5 separate regions of the Homo sapiens genome follow, and regions 1, 3, 4 and 5 are each linked to region 2. The links are contacts of gene promoters, found by promoter capture Hi-C in human tissues and cell types (Jung and others, 2019). All regions are on one chromosome and are shown on one strand. The core of a region is centred on a gene start or on the middle of the fragment in contact, and the rest is flanking DNA. Distances in the headings are between cores, read along the strand shown. Region 1 overlaps TUBG2 (tubulin gamma 2). Region 2 holds the start of NBR1 (NBR1 autophagy cargo receptor). Region 3 holds the start of EZH1 (enhancer of zeste 1 polycomb repressive complex 2 subunit). Region 4 overlaps LINC00671 (long intergenic non-protein coding RNA 671). Region 5 overlaps BECN1 (beclin 1).

Region 1 (2,700 bases), core at 1-2,500, 500 kb after region 2:
ATCCTGACCAACATGGCGAAACCCCATCTCTACTAAAAATACAAATTAGCTGGGGCTGGTGGCGCACACCTATAGTCCCAGCTACTCGGGAAGCTGAGGTAGGAGAATTGCTTGAACCCGGCAGGCGGAGGTTGCAGTGAGCCGAGGCACTTCAGCCTGGCAACAGAGCAAGACTCCGTCTCAACAACAACAACAACAACAACAACAAAAAAAAATGTTAGAAGAGCAGAAAGAACCAAGTATAACTGGCACATAGAAATGAAGGAGAGAAGCCGGCCGCGGTGGCTCACGCCTGTAATCCCAGCACTTTGGGAGGCCGAGATGGGCGGATCATGAGGTCAGGAGATCGAGACCATCTTGGCTAACACGGTGAAACCCTGTTTCTACTAAAAATACAAAAAATTAGCCGGGCGTGTTGGCGGGCGCCTGTAGTCCCAGCTACTCAGGAGGCTGAGGCAGGAGAATGGTGTGAACCCAGGAGGCGGAGCTTGCAGTGAGCTGAGATCGCGCCACTGCACTCCAACCTGGGGGACACAGCGAGACTCCGTCTCAAAAAACAAAAAAGAAATGAAGGAGAGAGTGGTGATAAGGAAGGAAAGGTTGCAGGGCCAGAGCACGTAGGACCCTGGTGGGGAAGCTGGAGCCCTAGAGCCTGGAGAAAGGATGAGAAAAAGAAGAGAACCTGGCAGCCCCTGTTGCACACTGACCTCTGCCCTCTCTTAGGTGGAAGAGATCATGCAGCTGGTGAATGCCTACTTGGCCAACCCCTCCCCCGAGAGGCCCTGCAGCAGCTCTTCTCCTCCATGCCAAGACCTGCCAGACACCTCCCCTCCCAGCCAGCGCCCGGGCCTGGACGAGCCCCAGGGACAGTCTGGCTGCTTGGGGCAGCTGCAGGACTGAGCCTGCCAAGAGGTCACGACTTCCCTCCTGCCTGCAGCCTGGGCCAGGACTGCTCTGAGATTTGAGGGAAACATGGACCCTTTTGGCCCTGCAGGGACAGGGCACATCCCACACCCAAGGGCTACAATGGGTGTGGGTAATTTTCTAGTTTGTTTCTTAATTTATTTGTAGAAGAGAAGCAAAAAAAAAAAAAAAGTTTCTTATTTACACAAACCCTTCCTGTGGGAGTGTTATTCAGTGGGACAAGTTGGAACCCCATAACGCAGAGCCCCGCCTCTGGGGATGCCCACACCCTGGGCTTTTACCAGGCTCTGGGGGAAGTCTGGACACCACAGCGCTTCACCCTCCCCCTCCTTGACCTTCCAGACTTAACCTCCTCCTGGCCAGTGTGCTGCCACAGGTTTGTGGGTGGAGCAGGCAAACAGGCCTCATTGGAAGCTGGCAGTTACTCACCCTCCCTTCTCCACTGAGTGGCATACAGATGGCCTCCTGGAATCCCTGAGGCTGGAGGGCAGTGAGTCATCAGATCTGGCACTGCCCATTTCTTACTCGTTGTCCACCTCTGGGCCCATCATTGGTGTGCCTAATGCTTTGGGCCTAGAATGGAGAGAAGCTTGGGGCAGATAACAAACCCACGAATTTCTCTGGCACAGAAAAGTAACTCAGGATGTGCTCAGCCCTACTCTTGAATTCTGTTTCTACTTATCAGGTTGGGTTGAACTGGATTGAGTTCCTGGAACTCTCATGGCCCTGGGCACTGGGAATCTGGAACCTTGGCTCTCCTGGCCTGCTCAGAATGTAGTGTGCCCTCCTTCAGTAGACCCCACCTCCTCTGCCCTGAGTGGAAGAGGTTGGGGCAACATTGACCCTCACTGGGGCAAAGCTTAGGCGCTGAGGAGACAGCAAACCTCAGTAAAGCTCTGTAATCTTGAGACAAGGGCTGACTCTAGTAATACTAAACAGCCTAGTTCAAGGTGAGGGATGCCAATGGAAACAGTGAACACACTAAGATTTGGACTAAGTGATAAGACGTTGGAGGAGGTGAAGGCCACCCTACTGTCAGATGCCTAGAAACTGGACCCCTTCACCACCCCCCCGTATTCACAGATCAAGCCCTGGCTATACTGACAACCAAGCTTTATTACTTTATTAGAGCTGAACAAGCATATTAAAAGTTAGGGCATGGAAGGGAGGAAGCAGGACCAGCTCACGGGCTGGAGATGAACCAAGAAGGGTTGTCCATGAGGTGAAGCTGGGTCAGAGGGAGCAGGCATGGTCGAGGCTGTGGTTACCATCTAGAAGGAGAAGGAGTAGTGGGGAGGGAAATCACTGCTCCTGGGTGCCCCAGGAAATGTAGTCTGGCTGGGTGGCCGCATGGTACTCATCAATGAGCTCCTGAACAACCTCCCTAGACCTGTCCATCTCATCAAAGTTGTCCTTGAACATGTCCTCCTTACGGAACTGCTCGAGGAAGGCATCCCGCTTCCGCAGCTTGTCAAACTGCTGGCAGGAACTTTCAAAGAGCTGAAAGAGATGAAAATCTCCAAAATGCGAGCCAGGGGGTTAGGAGTGAACTTGGGGAAGATGATGAAGGTGGCCAGTGGAACAGACTCTTCTAAGAAGAATAGAAACCTAGACTCACCGAGGAGATGCTGGTGTGGTTGGCCATCATGAGCCCGCTGACCCGGTGGGCCGAGGGCAGGTAGGGAGACTTCCTCGACAGGGCCACCTGGATGCTGGCGGGGCCCCACGGGATGAAGTTGGCCAACTTCCGTTCCCGGATCCTCTGCAGGCTCTTGT
Region 2 (2,700 bases), core at 48-2,547:
ACTCAGTCCGCCAAAAGTGGGTATTCTGAAATATCACTTTCCAACTTCAAGAAACACACTTCCCTACTTGTGAAGGAAATGAATCTTCCTCTCTTTTTCTCAAATTACACAATTGGAAATTTAGATACTCTGGAGCTCCTCCAGCTGGTGGGCCAACTAAGAGAAAACAGGAAGTGGGAGATTCTAGCTTGGCTGGACCATATCCAGGTCTTCATAAGGAACTCTCTTTGGCTGACATGTAAAAAAATTCTTTCAGCAGGAGCATTAATCTTAAACGTGTGTAAACACCAAAGCTATGGTTAACCCTATCTGCCCCTTAGGTCTACAGCCAGTAGAGTCAGATAGCTGGGTCTTAGGCCTTCAGCTTTCATAACTGGCATTATTGTAAGTCCATGCCACTGACTCACCTTTGCTTGGCACAAGTTAGCTTTTCCTCCACGTCGATTTTTTTTTCAGCCTCAACAAAATCCCTTTAATGAAACAGACCTGGCAACCTGAGCTTTGATTACTGTCTCCACCAGAGGCCTTTACAAGCCAAGTTATCCAGGCTTTAAAATGTGTGACCTGAGGCCGGGAGCGGTGGCTTATACCTGTAATCCCAGCACTTTGGGAGGCCAAGGCACGAGGATCGCTTGAGCTCAGCAGTTCAAGCCCAGCCTGGGTTGGTCTTTGAGAAAGCAAGACTCTGTCTCAAAAAAGTGTGGCCTGAAAGCTGAGTGTTTGACAAAAAGGAAAAACAGTGCCTTTCCAAAACCGAAGGTCCCTAACCAAGGAGATCTCTTTAAGGTCTCGAAAAAACGAGGATGGGATGAGAAGGATGTGTAAGTAGTGTCATTTTTTTACTTGCAGAGTTCATCCTAGTCTTCCAGTTTTCGTTTCCTAGCACTCCATGTTCCCAAGACAGTGTCACTACCCCGAGGGCTCTCTCATTTTCTTTGCCTAGGCCCTCATTCCACTGGGGAGTCGTGGCCTTCCATCAGTAGAAGCCGGATGTTCTGACCCACAGACTCTCCAACTCTCCGGCGCTTCTCGCCAACTCGGTCCCTCTGAACATGAAGGGCTCTCTCATCCTGTCACTAAAAAGATTAGCTGTCCCGAAACACGGAAAAAGTCGCCCCTCTTCTTTGCAGGATTCCTCCCTTGAACTTCCCCAAACCCTCTTAGCGTGACGTGACCCCACCCCTAGGTAACCGCAGCTGCTTCCTTACCAGCTTCCCGCCCCCGGGGGGCGCCTGCCGGAGGCCAATGCAAGGACCGTCCGCTACCGGCTCTGCCGCTATCCCTGTGGGGTGAATCTAACATGGCGGATAAAGACAGTAACTAGTCCCCTGTTTCTCCGAGTGTTCGCCAAGATGATTGGCTCTCACCACTTGTCCCTCAAAACGACCACGCCATTGATTGGTGGAGATTGCGTCGATGGGGCGGGGCAGAAGCAACCTGAACCCGAACAACAATAACAAACATTGAGGCTGAGGGGCGGAACTAGGAGTGCGCAGATGTGGGCCAGAGCGGATTTCCCCTTCCCCAGGCAAATTCGGCGCCCACTGCGTCCCCGCAGGCCACTGACCTTAGAGGACTACTTGCCCGAGACTCGTGGGGCTGGATGGGAATCGTAGTCTTCCTAGGAGTTGTAGGTATCTTTTTTTGGCCTAGTCTCTGCTCTCAAGATAGGAGAACATAACAACACTCCAATCCATTACTGTTGACATGTATAAGCCCGCGGAGGTCTCCAATCTATCCACTGGATTTCCGTGAGAATTGTGCCCGCTTTGGTATTGGATGTTCCTCTCCATAAGACTACAGTTTCCAAGGAACAGTGTGGCCAAGGCCTTTCGTTCCGCAATGCATGTTGGAAATAGTAGTTCTTTCCCTCCACCTCCCAACAATCCTTTTATTTACCTAAACTGGAGACCTCCATTAGGGCGGAAAGAGTGGGGTAATGGGACCTCTTCTTAAGACTGCTTTGGACACTATCTTACGCTGATATTCAGGCCTCAGGTGGCGATTCTGACCTTGGTACAGCAATTACTGTGACGTAATAAGCCGCAACTGGAAGCGTAGAGGCGAGAGGGCGGGCGCTTTACGGCGAACTCAGGTAGAATTCTTCCTTTTCCGTCTCTTTCTTTTTATGTCACCAGGGGAGGACTGGGTGGCCAACCCAGAGCCCCGAGAGATGCTAGGCTCTTTCTGTCCCGCCCTTCCTCTGACTGTGTCTTGATTTCCTATTCTGAGAGGCTATTGCTCAGCGGTTTCCGTGGCAACAGTAAAGCGTGGGAATTACAGATAAATTAAAACTGTGGAACCCCTTTCCTCGGCTGCCGCCAAGGTGTTCGGTCCTTCCGAGGAAGCTAAGGCCGCGTTGGGGTGAGACCCTCACTTCATCCGGTGAGTAGCACCGCGTCCGGCAGCCCCAGCCCCACACTCGCCCGCGCTATGGCCTCCGTCTCCCAGCTTGCCTGCATCTACTCTGCCCTCATTCTGCAGGACTATGAGGTGACCTTTACGGAGGATAAGATCAATGCCCTTATTAAAGCAGCCAGTGTAAATATTGAAACTTTTTGGCCTGGCTTGTTTGCAAAGGTCCTGGCCAACGTCAACATTGGGAGCCACATCTGCAGTGTAGAGGGGGGGAAAAAAACGTGACTGCGCGTCGTGAGCTCGCTGAGACGTTCTGGACGGGGGACAGGCCGTGGGGTTTCT
Region 3 (2,700 bases), core at 86-2,585, 430 kb after region 2:
CCATCTCTACTAAAATTACAAAATTTGCCGGGTATAGTAGTGCATGCCTGTAAACCCAGCTACTTGGGAGGCTGAGGCAGGAGAATCGCTTGAACCCAGGAGGCAGAGATTGCAGTGAGCCGAGATTGCACCATTGCACTCCAGCCTAGGCAACAAGAGTGAAACTGTCTCAAAACAAACAAACAAACAACACGCACAAAAAATCAGCTTATGCGTGTTCGTCAAGAATACCACAGAAGTGATTTTGTGCGCTTCTCATTGCATCATGTTCAGAGGGACCTGGTAAGAATACCTCTCAGCTGGGGGCAATGGCTCATGCCTGTAATCCCAACACTTTGGGAAATCAAGGTGGGAGGATGGCTTGAACCCTGGAGTTCAAGACCAGCCTAGGCAACACAGCAAGACCCTGTCTCCTTAAAAAGAAGAGGGAGGCCGGGCGTGGTGGCTCATGCCGGTAATCTCAGCACTTTGGGAGGCCGAGGTAGGCAGATCACTTGAGGTCAGGAGTTTGACAGCAGCCTGGCCAATACGGTGAAACCCCATCTCTACTAAAAATACAAAAATTAGCCGGGCGTGGTGGCACGAACCTGTATTCCTGGCTACTTGGGAGGCTGAGGCGGGAGAATTGCTTGAGCCCGGGAGGGAGAGGTTGCAGTGAGCCGAGATCGCGCCACGGCACTCCAGCCTGTGTAAGTAACAAAGCGAGACTCCGTCCAGCCTCGCCCCCCGGCAAAAAAAGAAGAAGAAAACAATACCTCTTATCACTAGTGATGCTAACTTTGATCACTTAGTTAAGGTGGTGTCTGACAGATTCTTATCTGTAAAGTTGCTATTTTTTTCCCTTTGTAACTAGCAGGTGTCTTGTGGGGATTTATTTCGATACAAGGCTATAATTTTGATTCTAAGTGACTAGAAAACTATGAACAGAAATAGGGAGATCAGACATAAATAAAGGGCTTAGAACCCATAGACCGGTGTCTGGAGAACTGGTAGGGGTGAAGCATCGGTATGAAGGTGATCTGGGTTGGCTTCAAACGCTGAAGTGAGATGTGGCTTGTCACCAGCGCGTGGGGATGGCAAATCCGCTGAATAGGGTCTTCAGGAAGATATTAGTGGCTCTGCGAAGGTTTCCCCAGAGCCCTTCCCCTCCCCTGCCAGCGCCGCTTTGGAAGCCGTCTGGGAGGCTGCACCCGCCAGGACTCCTGAGTGCGGGGTTTTGGCGGCAAATGACAGTAGTGCGTCCGCGCGGCACGGGTAAGTCAATGCGCACGCGCCGACAGGAGGCGCGGGGCGGGGCACGGCGCAGGGGTGGGGCCGCGGCGCGCATGCGTCCTAGCAGCGGGACCCGCGGCTCGGGATGGAGGGTGAGTGAGTAAACAAGCCTGGGCCGGGCGGTGGGGCCGGGCCTCCTCCCCTCGCCGCCCTGGGCCTGAGGGAGGGAGAGGCGGAGGGATCAGGAAATTGGAAGGAATCCGAGGGACACACTGCCTGCCTGGCCGGGGGTAGCAGGCGCCCCTCCTCATTCCGAGGGTGGGGGAATGGGGGCGACGGGGCGAGAGAGACCCAGGCGAGGACAGCGTCTGGGGCTGCGAGGGCTGTGTGCCCGGGAGGAGGAGCGGCGGGGGCGGGCTCGGGGACGGGGAATCCCGTTGGATGGCGGTGTGGGCCGGTGGGCGGGAGCCCCAGCGCCCAAAGGGCGCGGGAGGGCGGTGGCACCTGCGGGGGCCTTTAGCGAGGTGGACTCTGGGGACCTGGAGCTGTGCTTGGGGAGGGCTAGAGACCGGGGCTGATCTTGCGATGGCTTTCGGGGATGTTGAGGAGGGGTAGCAGTAAAAACAAGGCCGGGACTAGGGTGAGGTGAGTAAGGCTCCCAAGGCACAAAGTGTAAAGGAGCACTGACTCAGGGTCGCGCAAGTGCAGTGAGCGCCTCCTCACGTGCGTCCTGGGTGCCTCGGTCGCCTCACCCCAGGCCTGGCCCTGAGCAAGAATCTCCTTCACTCCAGACTTTTGGTCTCACGCCAATGATCGCTCACCCCCACCATTCAACCGAGGATCAAATGATATAAATAAAAGTGCCTTGAAGCACAGACAAGGTGTTGTATTTGGGACATGCCTGTTAGGAAATGTGGGACAAACTTTTATTTCAATAAAAAGTGACTACTGAGGAATTGTTTCTTGAGCAGGGAAGGGAAGGGATACCTGAAGGATGTTAGTGCCCCCCGTGGAATGTGAAGGAATATGGAGGGTGAAATACAGGGTTGTATGTGATGTAGCCCAGGCCGATAGGAACCTGACGCTTGGCAGGGGAGGATGAAAGCAAAGGAGCTCAGGTACACTAACAATTAGGTGGGTGCAAGGATGGCAATGAAAACGCGAGTCTCCTCCACGTTTGCTGCCATACTGCCGCTGAATAAAAAAATTCCCACACCCCATGTTTTTTAAATTTAGGAAACTGATATTGAAGGAGGTTTCCAGCCTGAGAAGGTGCTAACCCTATTAGAGGTTTCTGTGAAAGCTTGTCTATTTTAAGTCTTGGAATCCCCAGATATGCCACTGATAAAAGAGATTACTTACATAGGAGAGAGTGTGTGTTAGGAGATAAGTACTTTAGACTGGGCTCGGTGGCTCATATCTGAAATCCCAGCATTCGGGAGGCCCAGGCAGGAGAATAGCTTGAGCCCAGGAGTTTGGGACCAGCTC
Region 4 (2,700 bases), core at 49-2,548, 290 kb after region 2:
GCTCAAGCCTGTAATCCCAGCACTTTGGGAGGCTAAGGTGGGTAGATCACCTGGGGTCAGGAGTTCGAGACCAGCCTGAACAACATGGTGAAACCCCATCTCCATTAAAAATACAAAAATTAGCTGAGCGTGGTGGCGGGCGCCTGTAATCCCAGCTACTCAATAAGCTGAGGCAGGAGAATCACTTCAACCTGGAGGCGGAGGTTGCAGTGAACCAAGATCGCGCCACTGCATTCCAGCCTGGGTGACAGAGTGAGACTCTGTCTCAAAAACAAAAACAAAAACAAAACAAAACAACAACAAAAACAAAACAATACAAAAAGCCAAAACTATAGGAGAGGAGGGAAGGAGGCGAGGAATTTGCTGACATGGAGTCTCTGCTCTGAAAGTTAGACGTGAAGTCCGTGGCTAGGCTGGTTGCATCAGATGAGGCTGGCTGACATCTCCCAAGATATCTCAAGATGGTTTATTGGTGAATTCACCCCACTCCAAGGGAGAAGCCTGAATCAGAAACCAGATTCCTCAGCTCACCAATGGGAATTGTCTTTCAGGGAAGGTCTATATATACCAAAATTACACCTGAAGGTCAATCTGTTGATTTACTGTAACTGTCAAAGCAAAAGTAATTCTTATTAGAATGTCAATTAGTTCATTTACAAAAAGAGATGTAAGTGATGTGTCCATTTTCTTCCCATCACCATGATGTGGTGGGAAGCTGGCCTGTCGAGCTGGGAATCAGAACCAGCAGTTGGTCACAATATAGCTTCAATAAGGCCCGATGACTCCATGTGCATGGCTAAAGTGCCTCTAGGACAGGACGTGTCCTGGCCCTGGCCAGGTCCTCTGCTCCAAATGTGGCTGATTGTCACTGTCAGGGCAGGCTCTGTGATGCTCTCTTTCTGAGGGAGACGGGGTCTTCTCACTCTGTCGCCCAGGCTGTAGTGCAGTGGCATGATCTTGGCTAACTGCAGCCTCTGCCTCCCAGGCTCAAATGATCCTCCCACCTCAGCCTCCCTAGTAGCTGGGACCACAGGTGCATGTCACCATCCTGGCTAATTTTTTTTTTTTTTTTTGGTATTTTTGTAGAGAGAGGGTTTTGCCATGTTGCCAGGCTGGTCTCGAACTCCTGGACTCAAGTGATCTGCCTGCCTCAGCCTCCCAAAGTGCTGGAATTATAGGTGAGACACTGTGCCTGGCCCCTTTCTGCACCTTCTGATGGACACATTCTTTATGTCTTAGACTCTCTAGTCAGCTTCCTCTTGGGAGGCTTGGAACTGAACTACCATCTCCAGAGTTCTCCCAACCTTGGCTACACAGTAGAATCACCCGGGGAAATTTAAAAGCCAGTCATGTCTGTGGTTTGCCCCCAGAGGCTCTGATCATATCAGGCTGAGGCGCAGTCCGAGTATGTGGAGTTTTACAAGCTTCCCAGGTGATTTCAATGTGCAGTCAAGGTTGAGCACCTTTGTGAAAAGCAGCTCTGCATATTTCTGCCCTTGTCATTTGAGTGATGACTTTGCTCTGAGAGGGTCACTTAATATGGATCAGGTGCCAAGGGTTTCTCAAGCATTACCTTGTTTCATTCTTTTTTTTTTTCTTACAATATTCAGATGAGTCTGATACCTTGTTTAATTCTTCAAACAGGCCTACCAGGCAGTGGAAAAAGAGCCACGGCCCAGGGAAGGCCGTGAGGTGTAATTCTGCAAAGATCTGGGTTCACTCCCAGCCCCACCTTTTACCAGCCAGATGACTGTGGGCATGTTTCCTAATCTCTCTGAATTGTAGTTTCTGCATCTGTGAAATGGGTGTAATTAACATCTGCCTTTCAAGGTTGTTATGCGGATTAAGTGAAACAAAGATGGAAATTATCTGGCCCAGAGTATTCTGTCCTGTACTGGCTTTTCCTTCTCAATAGGAGAATTGGGAGTGACAGACATCACATTCCTTGGAGGTCCTCGAGAAAGGGAGAATTCCCCATCATATTCTGACCCGGAGATGTAAAGTTAAGAGGCATAAGGGGCTGGGTACTGTGGCTCATGCTTGTAATCCTAGCACTTTGGGAGGCCAAGGCAGATGGAATGCCTGAGCTCAGGAGTTTGAGACCAGCCTGGGCAACATGGCGAAACCCCATTTCTACTAAAAATACAAAAATTTGCTGGGGATGGTGGTGCGTGCCTGTAGTCCCAGCCATTTGGGAGGCTGAGGCTCAAGAATCGCTTAAGCCCGGGAAGCAGAGGTTGCAATGAGCCGAGATCATGGCACTTGCACTCCAACCTGGGCAACAGAGCAAAACTCCGTCTCAAAAAAAAAAAAAGTGGTATAAGAGACATGCAGCATGGAGGTGTTTGAGACCCGGGCCCTACTGAGAATGCTACAGCCTCTTTCCCTTCATATGATGAGGTTTCTGTGGCAGCTACAGGGAAGCTGGGGCCAGAGGGTCTGAGAGAAGAAGCAACAGCCTCTGAGAGGGAGATGAGGGGCAGATGGAGGGCCTCGGGCCAGCTCCCACTTCCAAGAACCATCAGAGAGGTTTTCTTGTTCCAGCAGCATCTCCCCTGGGCCAAGCCAGTCGGGGGGCCATGTCTGTCTGTCTGGGACCCACTGTCTCCCCCGCCAGCACCTAGCACAGTACCTAGTGGACAAATTCTATTTTTATTTTTTTTTGAGACGGAATTTTGCTCTTGTTGCCCAGGCTGGAGT
Region 5 (2,700 bases), core at 1-2,500, 350 kb after region 2:
CAGTGTGCTGTGATCACACCTCTGCACTCCAGCTTGGGCAACAGAGTTGAGACCCTGTCTCAAAAAATAAAAACATTATAGATGTCCTTGACCTGAGAGAACCCTCTCTCTAGTGGAGGACACACAGTGTCCATACTAACTGAAGTTGTGGAAATGAAGGATAGAGAAAAGTCCATTTTTTTCACACAGTAGTATAACAAGTTTCACTGGAAGTGGGGTATAGTAACTATTTAAAGGACAGTAAGTGTATAGAAATGAAGCTTTAGAAGGCCAATTATGGCCAGTTCATGGAAGAAGCCACTGTTTTTTTGTTTTTTTTTTTTTTAGAAACAGAGTCTTACTCTGTCATCCAGGCTGGAGTGCAGTGGTGCAGTCATGACTCACTGCGGCCTTGACTTCCTACACCTAAGCAATCCTCCCGCCTCAGCCTCCCAAGTAGCTGGAACTACAGGCGCGCAACACCATACCTGGCTAATTTTTGTATTTTTTATAGAGATGGAGTTTCCCCATGTTGCCCAGGCTGGTCTTGAACTCTTGAGCTCAAGTGATCCACCTGCCTCAGCCTCCCAAAGTGCTGGGTTTACAGGCATAAGCCACCATGGCCAGCTGGAAAAAGCCACTGTTTTTTGTTTTTGATTTTGGTTTTTTTTTGAGACAGAGTCTCACTCTGTTGCCTAGGCTGGAGTGCAGTGGCATGATCTCAGTTGTCTGCAACCTCCACCTCCCAGGTTCAAGCGATTCTCCTACCTCAGCCTCCCAAGTAGCTGGGACTACAGGCGTGCGCCACCACGCCTGGCTAATTTTATTTTTTTAGTAGAGACGGAATTTCACCATGTTGGCCAGGCTGGCATCTAACTCCTGACCTCAGGTGATCTGCCCACCTCAGCCTCCCAAAGTGCTGGGATTACAGGTGTGAGCCACTGCACCCGGCCCAGAAGAAGCAGAAGCCACTCTTTTTTTTTTTTTTTTTTGAGACAGAGTCTCGGCTCTGTTGCCCAGTCTGGAGTACAGTGGTGTGATAGCTCACTGCAACCTCTGCCTCCTGGGTTGAAGCAATTCTGCCACTTCAGCCTCCCAAGTAGCTGGGACTACAGGTGTGCACCACCACGCCTGGCTAATTTTTGTATTTTTAGTAGAGACAGGGTTTCACCACATTGGCCGGACTGCTCTCGAACTCCTGACCTCAAGTTATCCACCCGTCTTGGCCTCCCAAAGTGCTGGGATTACAGGTGTGAGCCACCACGCCTGGCCCCAAGAAGCCACTCCTAACCCATTCACCTCACTTCTGAAAAAGATCAGAAATAAGAGGTTTTTTGCCCTGGTTTGGGAGAATTCTTTTTTCCTCCACCTTTTTGCATATGGGCAGCTGGAATTTGAGACATTTCTGTTCCTTCCAGGCAAAACAGCTAGGACATACATGTTCCTCAGAATGGGATCTATGCCAAATATAAAAGATGCGAGAGCTAGATGTAACGATGATCACTAAAGAATCGTTCATAGTGTGGTGAGAGAGAAACTTTAGCCCCCAAGCTAACAGCCTTCAATGGCCCCCTTGGCTGCTCACAGGTATCAGAGAGAATACAGTGAATTTAAACGACAGCAGCTGGAGCTGGATGATGAGCTGAAGAGTGTTGAAAACCAGATGCGTTATGCCCAGACGCAGCTGGATAAGCTGAAGAAAACCAACGTCTTTAATGCAACCTTCCACATCTGGTAATGAGAGCTAGGGGATGAGGAGCACTGCACATATCTAGACCTTAGCTGTTGACCACTAAGCCTGGGTGCCCACTTCCCACAAAAGAGGGACTGTAGGTTATCTTCACCCAACTAGGTTTCTTTCATTCATAGTGATGGGATAGGCACAGTAGGGATTGGAATTCTAGAGCTTGGTGACATCCGCCCTTCTAAAGAAAGGAAAAGGCCTGAGCCCTTCAGCCACTTAAAAACCTGGTAAGCTGTCTGGTGCTGATTTCTTATCCCCACGGTGTTTGATGTTCCATTAATTTAATAACTGTTGAGTGTCTACTCTGGAAAAGGCACTGTGCTGAGTGCTAGGAGGGCAACAGCAAAACAGTATGCAGTCAACCTTCTAGTTGCATATAATCTGGTGGAAGAGATGGATAAATAACAAGCAGTTGTAATGCAGTGTGATGATGGTAAACCCAGGGTGCTGTGGGAACACATAAGGGCACTTGATCCAGTTTGGGGAGGCCATATGGAGAGTTTCCCCATAGGGGACTTACGTTTAAACTGAGAGGTAAAGTAGAAGTCTGCAGAGAGGGGGTTGTTCCTAGCAGAGAGAACATTATGTGCAAAGAAATGGGAAAGAGGGAGTGGTGAATTCAGAGAACAGAAAGGAGCTTATTGTGACTGAAGATTGAGTGTAAAGGGGAGAGTGGCCGGATATGAAACTGGAGAGTTACCAGTTCCTGAAGGATCTCGTAGGCCTCGTTAAGAGGTTTGGACTTCATCCAAAAGGCAGAGGAGACACTGAAGCATTTTAGCTAGGGAAGTGACGTAATTACACTTGTATTCGTGAATGATGGCTTTTCCTGCACCATGGGGAATGACTTGGGGTAAAGGGGTGGAATCGTTGGAAAGGATACTCATCAGTAGGAATCTAAAGGAAAAGAATAGTAGCATTGAATTTGGAGAAAAGTGGAAAGATCCAAGATATTTAGCAGGTAGAATCAGGAGAGG

Evidence for each region. Contacts are between HindIII fragments. The study calls those that stand out against the background at their distance.
Region 1: a contact is called between a fragment that was not itself captured here and the fragment with the promoter of NBR1 in region 2, in 1 of the 25 tissues and cell types used here (hippocampus).
Region 3: the fragment with the promoter of EZH1 here is called in contact with the fragment with the promoter of NBR1 in region 2 in 2 of the 25 tissues and cell types used here (heart left ventricle and liver).
Region 4: a contact is called between a fragment that was not itself captured here and the fragment with the promoter of NBR1 in region 2, in 2 of the 25 tissues and cell types used here (liver and mesendoderm cells).
Region 5: a fragment that was not itself captured here is called in contact with the fragment with the promoter of NBR1 in region 2 in 1 of the 25 tissues and cell types used here (dorsolateral prefrontal cortex).

What each region holds. Positions count from the first base shown.
Region 1 is chr17:42,666,327-42,669,026 of GRCh38, reverse strand. It overlaps TUBG2 (tubulin gamma 2), which reads right to left. Exons shown (of 11, transcript NM_016437.3): 10 at 2,543-2,700; 11 at 2,021-2,424. The coding sequence ends at 2,227. It overlaps PLEKHH3 (pleckstrin homology, MyTH4 and FERM domain containing H3), which reads left to right. Exons shown (of 13, transcript NM_024927.5): 13 at 724-1,113. The coding sequence ends at 900. Among named protein-coding and RNA genes, the nearest start is that of TUBG2, 8.4 kb to the right of the region's middle. RefSeq lists an enhancer at 222-797. The HindIII fragment of the contact is 5,317 bases long and covers 1-2,700 here.
Region 2 is chr17:43,169,811-43,172,510 of GRCh38, reverse strand. NBR1 (NBR1 autophagy cargo receptor) reads right to left here and starts at 1,297. Exons shown (of 21, transcript NM_005899.5): 1 at 1,209-1,297. LOC101929767 (a long non-coding RNA gene) reads left to right here and starts at 2,108. Exons shown (of 2, transcript NR_110868.1): 1 at 2,108-2,385. It overlaps LOC124900391 (a long non-coding RNA gene), which reads left to right and starts at 1,547. Exons shown (of 2, transcript XR_007065760.1): 1 at 1,547-2,095. It also overlaps a transcript of BRCA1 not described here and the pseudogene BRCA1P1. RefSeq lists enhancers at 1,157-1,266, 1,587-1,696, 1,947-1,996, 2,267-2,476. The HindIII fragment of the contact is 14,047 bases long and covers 1-2,700 here.
Region 3 is chr17:42,743,675-42,746,374 of GRCh38, reverse strand. EZH1 (enhancer of zeste 1 polycomb repressive complex 2 subunit) reads left to right here and starts at 1,335. Exons shown (of 21, transcript NM_001991.5): 1 at 1,335-1,364. RefSeq lists a silencer at 1,178-1,757. The HindIII fragment of the contact is 12,026 bases long and covers 1-2,700 here.
Region 4 is chr17:42,883,073-42,885,772 of GRCh38, reverse strand. It overlaps LINC00671 (long intergenic non-protein coding RNA 671), which reads left to right. Exons shown (of 6, transcript NR_027254.1): 3 at 1,087-1,178. Among named protein-coding and RNA genes, the nearest start is that of LINC00671, 14 kb to the left of the region's middle. The HindIII fragment of the contact is 4,241 bases long and covers 1-2,700 here.
Region 5 is chr17:42,814,921-42,817,620 of GRCh38, reverse strand. It overlaps BECN1 (beclin 1), which reads left to right. Exons shown (of 12, transcript NM_001313998.2): 8 at 1,567-1,713. Among named protein-coding and RNA genes, the nearest start is that of MIR6781, 7.7 kb to the left of the region's middle. The HindIII fragment of the contact is 7,607 bases long and covers 1-2,700 here.